Linked DNA regions of Homo sapiens: region 1 is linked to region 2. The links are contacts of gene promoters, found by promoter capture Hi-C in blood cells and fetal thymus (Javierre and others, 2016). All regions are on one chromosome and are shown on one strand. The core of a region is centred on a gene start or on the middle of the fragment in contact, and the rest is flanking DNA. Distances in the headings are between cores, read along the strand shown.

Region 1 (2,700 bases), core at 90-2,589, 160 kb after region 2:
TGGGAGGGGCTGAGCACTGTCAGCTGGCACTCTCCGGAGAGGGAGGGCTGCCCAGGAGGAGGCACCCCCTGGCCTAGCAAGTGCAGGAGCCCAGGGAGGGCCCAGGCCACGGCATCCTCCCCCCAGGACAGCCCTGTCCTGGAGCCTGGCTCCTGGGAAGATAAGCTCACCTAGGGCGAGTTCCCCAAGGCTACAGCCCCAGGTTGACTCTCCTCTCAATGTGACTGTCACTTTTAGGTGATGGATTTTCTTGTCATCTGTAACAGCAATTGGGGTCATTTCTGTTTGCCCAGGTCCCAGCTCCCCACTCCTGTAGCTAGAGATGGTACAGCCAGGAGGCAGGGATGGAGGGCTGGGGGCACTGGGACACAGAGAGGGGACAGGGAGGCCCCTGGAACTTTCTGTCCAATGACAGCTTAGGGGGTTCCACACCTGACTTCTGGATGCTGAGCCCTCCTCCCTGGCATGCTCACACCTGCACCCCCTCCCCCAACAAGCCAGCGGGCCCAGGGTGAGGAGGCATCTGTGCTTGCAGGGACATATTCTCCCAGGGATTTGGGCCTTTCCGCTGGGTGTGCACATCGGGGGACCCCCAGGACCTGGCGGTCACAGACGAACTGGCCACATCTGTGCTGGAGGAAGCCATTGCTGATGGAGGTGACGCCATTGGTGGGGATGCCCATGGGTGGGTGGCCCCCCCAAAGCTTCTGCCTCCATAGAGACAAGCTTCTATAGCAGGCCCACCTAGCTAATTCTGGGAGGGAACCTGGGCGCAGATGACTTTGTGAGTCTGGTGGGTGCTCAGCTGGCAACACAAAGGGACTTAAAGAAACTTGAGTGAGTTGCAAAGATCCTGGTCCCCAAGTGTCGTTCTCAGCCGTGGAGGCACAGGCCCCACCCACACCAAGCCTCTGCCCTCCAGAGCTGTCCTGGGCTCTGCCAGTGAGGACCTCTGGCTGCGAGTGACAGAAAGCCCCTCAAAGCGGCTGAAGCAGGACGGTCCAGGGCTAGGGTGGCCAGGCAGCAGTGGCCGGGGCCAGGCTTTCTGGGCAGCCCGCAGCACACCACAGTCCCTCTCAGACCCAGCCTCCCCCTCCACGTGGCCAGGGCAGTGCTGACAGCAGTGCTTCTAGTTCCTTCTTGCTGTCTTCCATGATGAAGCTGTCTCCACATGCTCCCGCCAGCCTTCCACGCCTGCCAGGTCCACAAGGGTCTCCTCTGCATCAGGGTCCCCCATGTTCATCCTGGGTTTTGCTGATGCTGAGTGTTGGTTCTGCCAGAGGGTTGTGTTTTTCCATGTCTACATGGCCTGCCTGGGTTTTAACCAACCTTTGTTCTCGTTGAGTGGGTCTGACGTTGTTGTTTCATGGTTATTTTATGACACTTCCTCTGTTGTTGCAGTTCTTACCCCGGTCTCTCTGCAGCTTTCCTGCAGGTCGGGTGGCTTTTCTGTGTGGTTCACCAGCCTCTGCTGTGTGCTTCACATCTCTAGGGCCCTTACACCCTGCTGCTGGCCATGTTCGGTGGGCTGGGCAGGGGCCCAGGTTACACAGACTCAGAGTAGGAGAGCCAGGCAGAGGGGAGACGTGGTCACCTGTGGAGGAGGAGGCGGGCAGGGGCCCAGGCAGGAGGGCAGGGGAAGCAGGGGCCTTCTCCTGGGGGTCTGGTCAGATGTCTCCTGGGCTTCCCTGGTGTGAGAACAGCAGGCAGCCAGTGGGGAACGACCAGCCCTCCGGAAAGAAGCCCTGAGCTGCTGCACCCACGAAGACCCTGGAGTAAAGACTCCAGGCCTGGCTGGTTTCCAGGCGTGCTGACCCAGCTCCACATGCCCGCAGCACATGCCCTGCGGCATCTCCACCAGGCAGATACTCTAGTCGAAGGCTGTGAAGTCACAGGAGTGAGGGATTTCTATTACCTTCATTTTAATATAATTTGGTAAAAGTGTAAGCTTATTTAAAATTTTAATGATATTTATGTTAACCACTGGCTCCCACAATTTCTGGAAAATTACCAGTCTGCTTTCACGAGCTGGTCAGGCTGGCTCCTGTGCCCTCTCACATGCACACATACTCCGTGAGCTTGGCCAGGTAGCTCCTGCATAGGCCAAGTTTATTTTCACCTCAGGGCCTTTGCACTGACTGTTCCCTCTGCCTGGAAGGCTGTTCCCTCAGAGCTTCCTTGTCCGGTTCCTTCCCAGCCTTTAGACTCAGCTTGATGGCCACTTCCTCAGAAAGCCCCCGCATCCACCATCCTGGGGAGCCCTCAACACAGTCCTGTGTTCCTCACGGCCCACAGCGGTCTTTGTTCCTGGTGCCTTGCTCAGTGTTGGTGTATAGTAGGCACTGAATAGCTATTTGTGGAGGGACCGAGTGCATCAGGCAGTGCGCTGCACGGCTGTGCATTATTAATTCATGGGGCCACTGGCACTGCTGGTCCCCAAGTTCACAAAGGCAGGGGTGGGGTGGGGTGGGCTCCCTCACCTTGTGTCCTAGCTCAGTGGTGGGCTCGGGGCAGGGTCTGTGCTGAGCTGAGCAGCCTGCCTGAGGGCAGGTCTGTGCCCCTGGAGGGTCTCTGACGCCTGCTGTCCTCTCTCCTGCAGTGAAGGTGTCTGTGAAGCTGCAGTACATGGACAACATCCGCTGGATCCGGGAGGCCGCCAGGCACCGGCTGGTGAGGGCCCAGGCCTGGGGGAGGCTGGGG
Region 2 (2,700 bases), core at 157-2,656:
TTTCAGACTTGTGCCCTGACAGGTGGCAACTGCAGGGGAGAAGGGACCCTGTGGATATTTCTGAATGTCACTGGACCCATCAATGTCTGTTTCCTTCAGGCTGCCCATGTCAATGACCCATCAATGTTGTGTGATGGGCCAGGCTGTGCCATGCAAGAGTGTCATGGTCTGTGCCCCTGATTACTCCCCCTCACGGCTCAAAGAGGAGGACCCAAGCTAATGTGAAAATCACAGGCACTGTGATTGGGTGCTAGATGAAACTTCACGCAGGGACCCGGCCAGCCCTGCGACCTCCCTGAGGGCGACGGCTGGGGACATGGGTCATGTCCACAGATTAGTCTCAGGGAAAAGGAGGATGCACCTGACTTCAAGGCCCGTAGCTTCCACACACTCCCCCCTCATCCTGGACATGTGTCCTCACCTGAACAATGGCCCCATGACTGGTTGTGCCTCATGGGACCCAGGAGATGGAGAGACGCAGCCACACCTCATAGGAGCAGGGCGGCCAGCCTCATTCTCTGCCAAATCCGCAGCGCCCAGCACAGTATCTGGCACATGACAGGCACTCCAGCATCGCTGAGTGCACAGGTTAACAAAAAGCATAAAGTACCTACTAGGCTCCTTCCCCTGCTCTGGTTATTGCATGGGTTCCGCCTAGAGGACTTAACTGAAATGTAAAGAATTGTTGAGAAGAAGGAAACTCCAGGTTTTTGTTTTTGGTTTTGTTTTTTTTTTTTGAGACGGAGTCTCGCTCTGTTGCCCAGGCTGGAGTGCAGTGGCGCCATCTCGGCTCACTGCAAGCTCCGCCTCCCAGGTTCACGCCATTCTCCTGCCTCAGCCTCCCAAGTAGCTGGGACTACAGGCACCCGCCACCATGACCGGCTAACTCAGTCACTGCAGGCAAGTTCAGCTCCGAGGTCTTCCACTCATCCACCGAAATGGACAGAGGATTCCTCTTCTCGCGGTTTCAGAGTCCCTTTGTTAGGGGCGGCTCTGGAATTCTATGTAGAAGGGAACTGACGGGTAGCAACCTAGGAAACTCATTAAAGCTGCATTGCAATAGCAAACGCAATATATTTATTTAGCTTGTGTGATCTAAACTTTTAAAAATATCAATCTTTCCAATTCACACTTCCCATAAAAATTGAAGAACGTATATTTTAAGGTGGTTTAAAGGGGCTGTTGGGGATTATTAGGAGTAAAAGGCATTGCACAGAGGCCATCTCAGAGCGCCATCGCCAAGATTGGGTGGTCTCCGGACGCAGGCACAACCTGGAGATAAAGAGGCTCGCGCTTGGTACCCGCCCCTTTGCGAAGGGCAGGTGACACCTAGGCTGCGGGCGGGCGGGGGACCCAATTTCGCATGCGCGGGGCGGTGTTGGGGGGCGGGGCGAGCGGCTGCCTCGCGGATTCGCGCGGGTGGTGAGAGTGGCCAGCGAGGGCAGCGTTCGCCGCCCCTCAGGCCCCGTCCCGGCGCCGCAGCCGCCTGCGTTTCGGTTTGTGAGCAGGCCCGGCCGGGCCAGGAGCGAGAGCGAGACTCTGGAGCGGTCGCCGCCGCAGTCGCCCGGGCCGGGAAAGGCGGGCGATGCCCCCAACCGCCGCTCGGGCCATGTCCGAGGGGCGCGCGTGTTGTCGCCGCCGGGGCGCCGTGCCCGCCTGTCGTCCCCCGGGCCCAGCCGCTCGTCCGAGGCCCGCGAGGAGCTGCGCCGCCACCTCGTGGGCCTCATCGAGCGCAGCCGGGTGGTGATCTTCAGCAAGAGCTACTGTCCCCATAGTACTCGGGTAGGCGCGGCCCTCGCCGGTTCCACCGCGCGCGACCGGGCCCGCCACGCGGACGCCACCCGGGGCAGGGCGGGTCCGGGCCGGGGCGCCCGCGGGTCCCGGGCTGCGGCGGTGAGGTCAGCCGTCCGTCCTCTCCTCTCCCCGGTCGTCCCCTGAGGTGGGCTTGTGATAGTTTATCAAAACAGAAACTCTCCTAATTGCGTGACCTCGACCCGGGTTAGGACCCTGTGCAGAGCCTCAGTTCCCCCGTTTGTGAAACGAAGGTACGGGAAGGTTGTTAGGACGACTGAGGTAATTTCAGCTTCATGCACACTGCCTTAACTTTTCGGGGCGGACTAGGAATCCGGCATTATTTCTAAGGACAAATGTATTCTGTGTTTAAGAATACTTCACTTAGAAACGAGCCTTTGGGTGATAACCTACGTGTAAGGTACAGACTTTCAACGTTTAGGAATTTACTTCATTTTACAGAAAGTTGAAAAATGATACGTGGAAGACAGTATGCAAAAGCATAAACTATTGGGTTGAGTTCATGAAATTATAGGCTGTGTTTTTCAAATATATTTGAAGTTTACATTGATGTGTATAGTTTCTTAAAACATATATTATGCATATATATTTTTAAGAATAATAAAGTGACACTAGTACTGTAGAAGCTTCCTTGGCTGTCTCCTCCCTCCCTCAGGGTTAACCACTATGCAAAATTTCCTTTTTTTTTTTTTACATTTTTACCAAATATATATATTATTCATCAATATTTGGTTCCTTTTGGCCTGTTTTGGGACTTGATATAAATAGAACCATACATACATAGGTATTCTTCTGCAGTTTTCTTCCTCAACAGTTATGTTTCAGAGATTCATGCATGTTAGTATCTGTAGCTGGGGTTCATTAATTTTCGTTGCTGACTATTCCCTG

Evidence for each region. Contacts are between HindIII fragments. The CHiCAGO score rates a contact against its expected background, and 5 or more counts as called.
Region 1: a fragment that was not itself captured here is called in contact with the fragment with the promoter of TXNRD3 in region 2 in 1 of 17 cell types (megakaryocytes); the score reaches 6.4 in megakaryocytes.

What each region holds. Positions count from the first base shown.
Region 1 is chr3:126,496,008-126,498,707 of GRCh38, reverse strand. It overlaps UROC1 (urocanate hydratase 1), which reads left to right. Exons shown (of 20, transcript NM_144639.3): 14 at 536-657; 15 at 2,600-2,670. Among named protein-coding and RNA genes, the nearest start is that of UROC1, 20 kb to the left of the region's middle. RefSeq lists an enhancer at 329-1,206. The HindIII fragment of the contact is 1,222 bases long and covers 729-1,950 here.
Region 2 is chr3:126,653,830-126,656,529 of GRCh38, reverse strand. It overlaps TXNRD3 (thioredoxin reductase 3), which reads left to right and starts at 1,406. Exons shown (of 16, transcript NM_052883.3): 1 at 1,406-1,782. The coding sequence starts at 1,540. The HindIII fragment of the contact is 4,771 bases long and covers 1-2,440 here.